Linked DNA regions of Homo sapiens: regions 1 and 2 are each linked to region 3. The links are contacts of gene promoters, found by promoter capture Hi-C in blood cells and fetal thymus (Javierre and others, 2016). All regions are on one chromosome and are shown on one strand. The core of a region is centred on a gene start or on the middle of the fragment in contact, and the rest is flanking DNA. Distances in the headings are between cores, read along the strand shown. Region 1 overlaps MS4A15 (membrane spanning 4-domains A15). Region 2 overlaps LOC105369322 (a long non-coding RNA gene). Region 3 holds the start of CD5 (CD5 molecule).

Region 1 (2,700 bases), core at 71-2,570, 330 kb before region 3:
GACATCATGCCTGTCTCCAGCCCAGAGAGCCGGATTCTAAACCCAGCTGCCCTCTTGACAACTCCGCTTGATGCTGAAAAGGCAACTCAGTATATCAAAATGAAACTCTTGATTCCTGCCATAGGCTTGTCCCCAGCCCTATCCCTCCTATCACCTCCTCATCTCAGCAAATGGCACCTCCAGCCACCCAACTGCCAAAGCTAAACATATCCCAAGAATTGTCCTAGAATCTTCTTTCCCTGCTGCGCATCCACCCCAGCAGCAGGTCGCGCCGGATCACCCTCCAGAGCATAGCCTGAGTGTGTCCGCTTCTTCCCACCCCCATGGCCACCATGCTGAGCTACACCTGCTTGAGACCTGTAGTGACTCATTCCTGGTCCTCTGTCTCCGTGTCACCCCAGGGCCTCCTCCACCCACCGCTGACCCTGCGGTCTCCCCAGCATGGCAGCTGAGTGCCCCCTGCAAATTGCAGACCTGCTAAGCTGCAGGCCCAGAGTGGCGCAGCACTGCTCAGCTCCACCCTCTCAGCTCGGCAGACGCAGGGCCAGCCCCACCTCAGTGTGTCAGGCGACTGCCAAGTACATAGGTGCCATGATGCAGGTCCCTGGGCTATCCTTATGGATAGCCTCGTGCCCGGCTGTTGTCATCCCAGCTCACAGAGACAACCCTGACACCCACCCAACCTCGAGTAGCCCCAGTGACCGCTATGACTTCATCACAGCTCTTAGCACCACTGTCTGTACTTTTCTTCACTGTTTGCTAAGTGTCAGTCTTCCCCAATTAGAATATAAGTTCCGGCCGGGCACGGTGGCTGATGACTGTAATCCCAGCACTTTGGGAGGCCAAGTCAGGTGGATCACGAGGTCAGGAGTTCAAGACCAGCCTGACCAATATGGTGAAACCCCGTCTCTCCTAAAAATACCAAAATTAGCTGGGTGTGGTGGCGGGCGTCTGTAGTCCCAGCTACTTGGGAGGCTGGGGCAGGAGAATCACTTGAACCCGGGAGGCGGAGGTTGCAGTGAGCCGAGATCATGCCACTGCACTCCAGCCTGTGTGACAGAGCAAGACTCCATCTTAGAAAATAAAATAAAAAAAAAAAAGCTCCTTGAGGGCAGAGATCTGGTCTGCCTTATTCAACTCTGTTATGTTCCTGGCACATAACTGCCACTCAGAAAATATTTGGTTTTTCTGTTTTTTGTTTTGAGACAGAGTCTCACTCTGTCCCCCAGGCTGGAGTGCAGTGGCACTATCTTGGCTCACTGCAACCTCCGCCTCCCAGGTTCAAGTGATCCTTGCTCCTTAGCCTCCCGAGTAGGTGGGATTACAGGTGCACGCCACTCTGCCCAGCTCATTTTTGTATTTTTAGTAGAGACTGGAGTTTCACCATGTTGGCCAGGCTGGTCTTGAACTCTTGACTTCAAGAGATCCTCCCACCTCGGCCTCCCAAACTTCTGGGATTACAGGCATGAGCTCACTCAGTTCAGCCTCACTCAGTAAATGTTTGATGAGTGAATGTTTGAAGGAACAATGCCTTCCCCATGAGGCCCTGATGATATGACGTCAATGAAAACACTCACCTTGTAAGCCACAGCCCTAGTTCTCTGGACAGGGGACACCCCTGCCGAGAGACCCCAAGGTGCCTGCCTGGCAGAGAAAGTGGCATCAGGAGGCTGTTGTCTCTCCCTGGCACCTCTTGACAGATCCCAAGCAGGGTCTGCCCTGCCCAGGGTCCTGGCTGAGGCCTCACCTGGTCCCCTCTCCCCATACAGTTCATCATCTCCGGATCCCTCTCAGTGGCAGCCGAGAAGAACCACACCAGTTGCCTGGTGAGTGTGAACAGGGGGACCCAGGGGCGGGGATGAAGCCACAGCTAAATCTCACTCTACCCTGCCCCTCCCATCCACTCACTCCTTCAGCTCATTCCCCAGCACTTCAGGGGACCTGCAAAGTGCCAGGGGAGGGGCACCACCCAGGCAGACCAGACGCAGACTGTGCATGTCCAGGAGAAGAAGACAGGGATACTCTTTCAATACACAAGCCAGGGTGGAAAGTGAGGTCCATGCTCATGGTCATTCCGAGAAAGGAAAGATGCTAGAAGATCTCCTGTAAGAGTCCTGCTGGGCCTTGGTGAGCAGAGAGGACTTAGAAATACCACAGGGAAAGCTGGAGAATGCACGGAGGAGTGTGGGCAGGGTCGCCACTGAAACCACGCCTGGCTCCATCCAACGAAGGCAAAGGTAGGAGAAGGAAAGTGGAAAGAAATCAGACAGAGAGATTTAATCCCATGATGGGGCTGGATTGTGGAGGGCTTGGTGCCTTCTGCAGGCACTGGGAGGCGATGGAGGCTTTGAACAGGAGGGTATGAGCTTTATGTCAGGCTCAGAGAACACGGCAATGAAGATCATGAACACGGCAGCGAAGGTCATGAACATAGCAGTGAAGGTCATGGCATTTATCTTCTGGTGCCTTGTAGACACCCGTAAAGCAAACTAACAAAGATGGTTGCCAAGCATGAGAAGTGCTGAAAGGAAGCAGGCAGGATAATATGAGTCATTCTAAGCTCAGCTGGGACGGTCTGGAGTCCCTGAGCAGGTATCACGGAACCGAGTCTTCACAGTTCAGAGGGCAACAACCACGGAAGAGCCCGGTCGGGAAACGCCATGGCTGGACAGGGGACCAGAGTGCTGGACCATCACAGGC
Region 2 (2,700 bases), core at 16-2,515, 280 kb before region 3:
CCATCTCAAGAAAAAAAAAAAAAAGAAAGAAAACAGAAACCTGTAGTCTATGATTCTGGAGGCTGGAAGCCCAAAGTCAAGGTGCTGGCAGGATCGAGTTCTCTCTGAAGGCTCTTGGGGATAATGCTTTCTGGCCTCGTCCCAGCTTCCAGTGGTTGCTGGCAACTCTTGGTGTTCCTTGGCTCGTAGACACATCCTGCCAGTCTCTGCCTCTGTCATCAGGGGCTGTTCTCCCTGTGTCCCTTCCCTTCTTCTAAGGACACCAGTCATAATCCATTATGACCTCATCTTAACTCGATTACATCTGCAAAGACCCTATTTCCAAATAGATCCCATTCACAGGTACCAGGGTTAAGACTTCAACATATCTTTTGGGGGGATACAATTCAACCCACAAAAGATGGCAAATAGCTTTTCTATCGATGCGGCCCTGGTGGGTTCTGAGGATTGATGGATGTTGTCTGCCATGGACTTTGCAGGAAGAAGTGGCCACACATGTTGCTGTCTGTGCTCCTGCAACAAATCCATCTCCTGGCTATTAAGGCTGACATAGCCTCTGTGGCCCATGGGCTCCAGCAGGTGGAGCAGAGATGCTGTCACCTTGGTCACTGGTTCCTGGCTCCTAGGGCAAGTCAGTGGTTCCTCCAGGATCAAAAGCGTGCAAAGGAAGCCCGCAACACAGAGGGCATGTGAGCCAGCACTCTCCCCTTCCCGCTGGGTAGTAACTCGGGCTCCGGTCTCCTTAGCAGGTGAAGGTCAGCACAGGGCCAAACCTGGTCAGCTCACTGTGTGCCAGCCTCGGGGTGTGTGCCTTCATGGTTGAGCTGGCTGCCAGCAACAACTATACCCAGATCAGTGTCTCAGGCCCAGAGAATAAGCATCCACTCTTTGGGCACCATTTAATCCTAGAAACCACCACCAAGAGATATTTTCTTATCCTCTATTGTCAAAGTTAAAATGGGGAGTGGGATTTTTTTTTTCTTTAAATACAGACAGAGCCTCGCTAACTTGCTCATGCTGTCCTCAAACTCCTGGGCTCCAGCGATTCTCCTGCCTAAGCCTCCTGAGTGGCTGGGACTCCAGGCAGGTACCATGACACCCAGCTTTTGGGAGTAGGGTTTAAGTGTTTAGCAATTACCTCCAGATTCCCTGAGGCAGAACTCCACCAGGATTTGACAGCCCCAGGTACTTCCCTCTGGACTAGTTTTTCCTGTGTTAATGCTGATGTGGTGGCTCTTTAGGAGGCCAAGGCGGGAGGATCGCTTGAACCCAGGAGTTTGAGACTAGCCTGAGAAACATGGTGAGGCCCACTCTCAACCAAAAATATTTTTTTGAAAAAAATTAGCCAGGTATGTTGGTGCAGGCCTGTAGTCCCAGCTACTTGGAAGGCTGAAGTGGGAGGATTGCTTGAGCCCATGAGTTCAAGGCTGCGGTGAGTTATAATCATGCCACTGCACTCCAGCCTGGGTAACAGAGTGAGCCCCTGTTTCTTAAAAAAAATAATAATCATTTGCTTGGAGGAAGATATTCCAGCTGCTTGCCTCCTACCAAGGACGTTCCCCTGTAAGAGCATAGAGGTCAAGGGTGCATTAGGAGGACTGCCAGCATAATAATACCTAAGATTTATCAGTGAGTCCTGCCTTCTGGCTGTGGCCATTGAGGTCACATCTTTTCAAAGACATGTGATTATGTCATGAGATTGCTACCAGGGACCTGGACGTGGCAAAAATGGGGCTGGGAATACTGGGGGAGGAGTTTCCTCTGCTCTCATCCTAGGGAAAGAGAGGAAAGGAGAAACACTCTCTTCAGGTGGGTCTGACACACCATGCAGGGGCGAGGGACACACTGCCCACTGCTGCCCACACTTTGACCACTTCAGTGACCCAGCTGCCCCAGAATCCCCGACCTTCCCCTGTAGCCTGGGGTCCCTGAACGGCCCCAAGACTCAACTTCCTGCCCGTGACCTCACGTGAAACTGATCTTCACCCAGCCCCTCTCTGTGCTTTCCTTATCAGTAGAGGACAAATCATTCCTCCTAGGCCCCCACGACCCTAGTCCACTGTGTTCACCTTCCCTAGCTGCTCTCTCCTCCATCCATGCCTCTCCCTCTCCTCTGGTCCAGAAACTCAAGTCCCGGAGACCCCGTGTCCCTCTCTGACTGTGGTCTCCCCTCTCTTCCCTTTCACAGCAACAATCTCCTACGGACTCCATCTCCTCCTCTCCCGTCTCTACAGACCTCAAGCCCTCTCAGGGCAGCCGCCAGTAGCTTACTGCCAAATACATGCTTTTCCATGTATTTTCTTACTTGACCTTTCTGTACTTTTTTGCTGATGGGTGTCAGTCTGAATGGTTGACCACATGGGTCTTGGAATTGGATGGGTCTGAATCCCAGCTTTCACATACCAGCTGTGTGGCTTTGGACAAGTACCTCAATTTTTCTGAACCTCTGTTTCATCCTCTGTGAAATGGGGCTAATCAGAGTAGCTATCTAATAAGGCAACTAAGATTAAAATAAGCACGTAACAGGTGCTCACTAGATGACAGGTCACTCCCCTTCTAGAAAGCTTCCCTTCTTTTATCCATCTCCTTGGTCAGAATCTGCAGACTGATTCCGGGACTGGCTGGCCTGTAAAACTGCCCAGTTTTTGCAGGCTTTGCACCCTGGTTTTGCAGGTGCCCTGGAAGAGTCTCTCGGTGCTG
Region 3 (2,700 bases), core at 111-2,610:
ATCAACATGGAGATTACACACACATCAACATGGAGATCACACACTCATCCACATGGAGATCACACACACACATCAACATGGAGATCACACACACATCAACATGGAGATCACATTCACACACATCAACATGGAGATCACAAACACACATCAACATGGAGATCACACACACACATCAACATGGAGATTACACACACATCAACATGGAGATCACATTCACACACATCAACATGGAGATCACACACACACATCAACATGGAGATCACACACACACGTCAACATGGAGATCACATTCACACACATCAACATGGAGATCACATTCACACACACAAACATGGAGATCACACACACATATATCAAATGGGGATTACACACACATCAACCCCAACATGGAGATCACACACACAACACAGAGATCACACAAGTCAACATGGAGATCATACACACACATCAACATGGAAATCACAAACACACAACATGGAAATCACACACACATATCAACATGGAGATCACACACACACATCAACATGGAGATCACACACACATCAACATGGCGATCACAATCACACACATCAACATGGAGATCACACACAACACAGAAATCACACACGTCAACATGGAGATTACACACACATCAACATGGAGTTCACACACACATCAACATGGAGATCACACACACTCAACATGGAGCTCACACATACACCTCAACATGGAGATCACACAACACAGAGATGACACACACAACACAGAGATCACACAAGTCAACATGGAGATCTCTCTCTCTCTACACACACACACACACACACACACACACACACACACACACACTGGCACAAGCCCAGCATTCATGGCGCAGCCATCTCTTGTACTTGCTAGCAAAACACCACCTGTGGAAAGTCAGCTCAAACTTCCAACCTCATCCCTCACAAAGGGGGAATGGAGGGTTTGGTTTTGGCTTTCACTGGAGTCTGCAACAAGAACTGGCATCATGCTGCCCATTTCCCGCCTCTCCCCACCCAGACCCCTGCCTCAGGGACGCCTGTCCTCAGCCCAGCCCTCAGCTGCAGCCAGGCCTTCAGCCTCCGTAACCCCCGCTCAGGGTCCCCACCCCCTGCAGCCCTGTCCCTCCAGGATGCATGGCCTTGTCCTGTGTGGGGGTGGCCGAGAGCACTGCCCCAGCCCTGGGTACCTTGGGCAGGAAGCTGGCAGAGGCCAGGGCTGCCATTCAAACAGGGGCAGGTGGTTTTGCCAGGAGGAAGTTGACAGTTCAACTTCAAACATGGGTGACGCAGGCCCCACACTGCCTGCTCCCCGTCCCACCCCTCCCTGAGCACGCCACCCCGCCCTCTCCCTCTCTGAGAGCGAGATACCCGGCCAGACACCCTCACCTGCGGTGCCCAGCTGCCCAGGCTGAGGCAAGAGAAGGCCAGAAACCATGCCCATGGGGTCTCTGCAACCGCTGGCCACCTTGTACCTGCTGGGGATGCTGGGTGAGTACCCCTCCCAGGTGTCCTGCGAACACCCGGGCTCGCTCCAGTGCAAGGAAGGAGTTCCCAGTTTTACCCAAGGCTGACTCTGGGATCCACATGTCAGCCCTCTGGAGCGTTGTGGAGATTTGGGGCCACTGGGATCCCTGCCTGCCCCCACTAAGCCGCAGCTTGGCCCTCTGTCCTGCATGTCCCACCCGCCAGGAGCACAACCTTGCCTCTCTCATGCGCTGTTGAGAACCCTGCTTTACCCTTCCAGTGCAAGAGAGACTGCAGGGGGGACCCGCATTTGATGGGGCCCAGACAACTTGATTCCTAGGCTGAGTTGGATTTTAGCAGAGCATTCAGGCCTCCCTCTGCGAGGTCCCCCACTGACAGCCCAGCCTTTACTTGGTCGCCTCCAGAGACATGGAAACTCGCCGTCTCCGAGGCAGCTCTGATGATGCTCTGGACAGACAGTGGGCCGAGGCAGGGTGGAGCCGCCTCTGAGGACGATGTCTGAGCAAATGTCAAGGACTCATAGCGGAAGTCCTAGGCCCTCTCATGCCCAGTCCTGGGTCAGTCCCAGAGGGGCCCAGCCAGGCCGGCTGGGATGAGTACACGCTGGGCCTGCTCTCACTCCAGCCCTGGGTTGTAAGCCCAACCCTGTGTGACCTCGGATAGGTCCCCAAGCCTCTCCAGGCCTTGATCTCCCCATTTATGAAATGTGGGGGTTGGGGGTGTGAACTGGATGAGGCCTGACCCACTTCCTGAGGATTTAGAAGGTCTGGCAGGGTGACAGAGGTGCGTGACTCTGGGCTGGAAACAGGAGGATGCGAGCAGCTTCCAGGCTGGCAGGGAGAGGGTCCGGAGGCCTTGCCTGCCTGAGCAGGGAGCCTCAGCAGCCTTCTAGGGAAACCGGGTGTGCAGGTGTGAGTGTGGGGGAATGCATGTGTGTGTGTCTGTGTGCATGTGTGTGAGAACTGTGTGTGGGGGAATGTGTGAGTCTATGTGTGTCTGTGTGAGTCTGTGTGTACGTGTGTGAGAACTGTGTTGGGGGGTAATGTGTGACTCTGTGTGTGAGTCTGTGTGTGAGTCTCTGGGCATGTGTGTGAGTACTGTGTGTAGGGGAATGTGTGAGTCTGTGTGTGAGTCTGTGTGTGAGTCTCTGGGCATGTGTGTGAGTACTGTCTGGGGGGGAATGTGTGAGTCTGTGTGTGAGTCTCTGGGCATGTGT

What was found. The method cuts DNA at HindIII sites, captures the fragments that hold promoters and counts their contacts. A CHiCAGO score of 5 or more calls a contact.
Region 1: a contact is called between a fragment that was not itself captured here and the fragment with the promoter of CD5 in region 3, in 1 of 17 cell types (fetal thymus). The highest score is 5.5, in fetal thymus.
Region 2: a fragment that was not itself captured here is called in contact with the fragment with the promoter of CD5 in region 3 in 2 of 17 cell types (fetal thymus and total CD4 T cells); the score reaches 6.7 in fetal thymus.

What each region holds. Positions count from the first base shown.
Region 1 is chr11:60,769,522-60,772,221 of GRCh38, forward strand. MS4A15 (membrane spanning 4-domains A15) reads left to right here. Exons shown (of 7, transcript NM_001098835.2): 4 at 1,770-1,826. Among named protein-coding and RNA genes, the nearest start is that of MS4A15, 14 kb to the left of the region's middle. The HindIII fragment of the contact is 3,389 bases long and covers 1-2,700 here.
Region 2 is chr11:60,825,198-60,827,897 of GRCh38, forward strand. All of the region lies in intron 2 of LOC105369322 (a long non-coding RNA gene), which reads right to left. Among named protein-coding and RNA genes, the nearest start is that of CCDC86, 16 kb to the right of the region's middle. The HindIII fragment of the contact is 2,594 bases long and covers 1-2,562 here.
Region 3 is chr11:61,101,129-61,103,828 of GRCh38, forward strand. CD5 (CD5 molecule) reads left to right here and starts at 1,361. Exons shown (of 11, transcript NM_014207.4): 1 at 1,361-1,487. The coding sequence starts at 1,433. The HindIII fragment of the contact is 6,487 bases long and covers 1-2,700 here.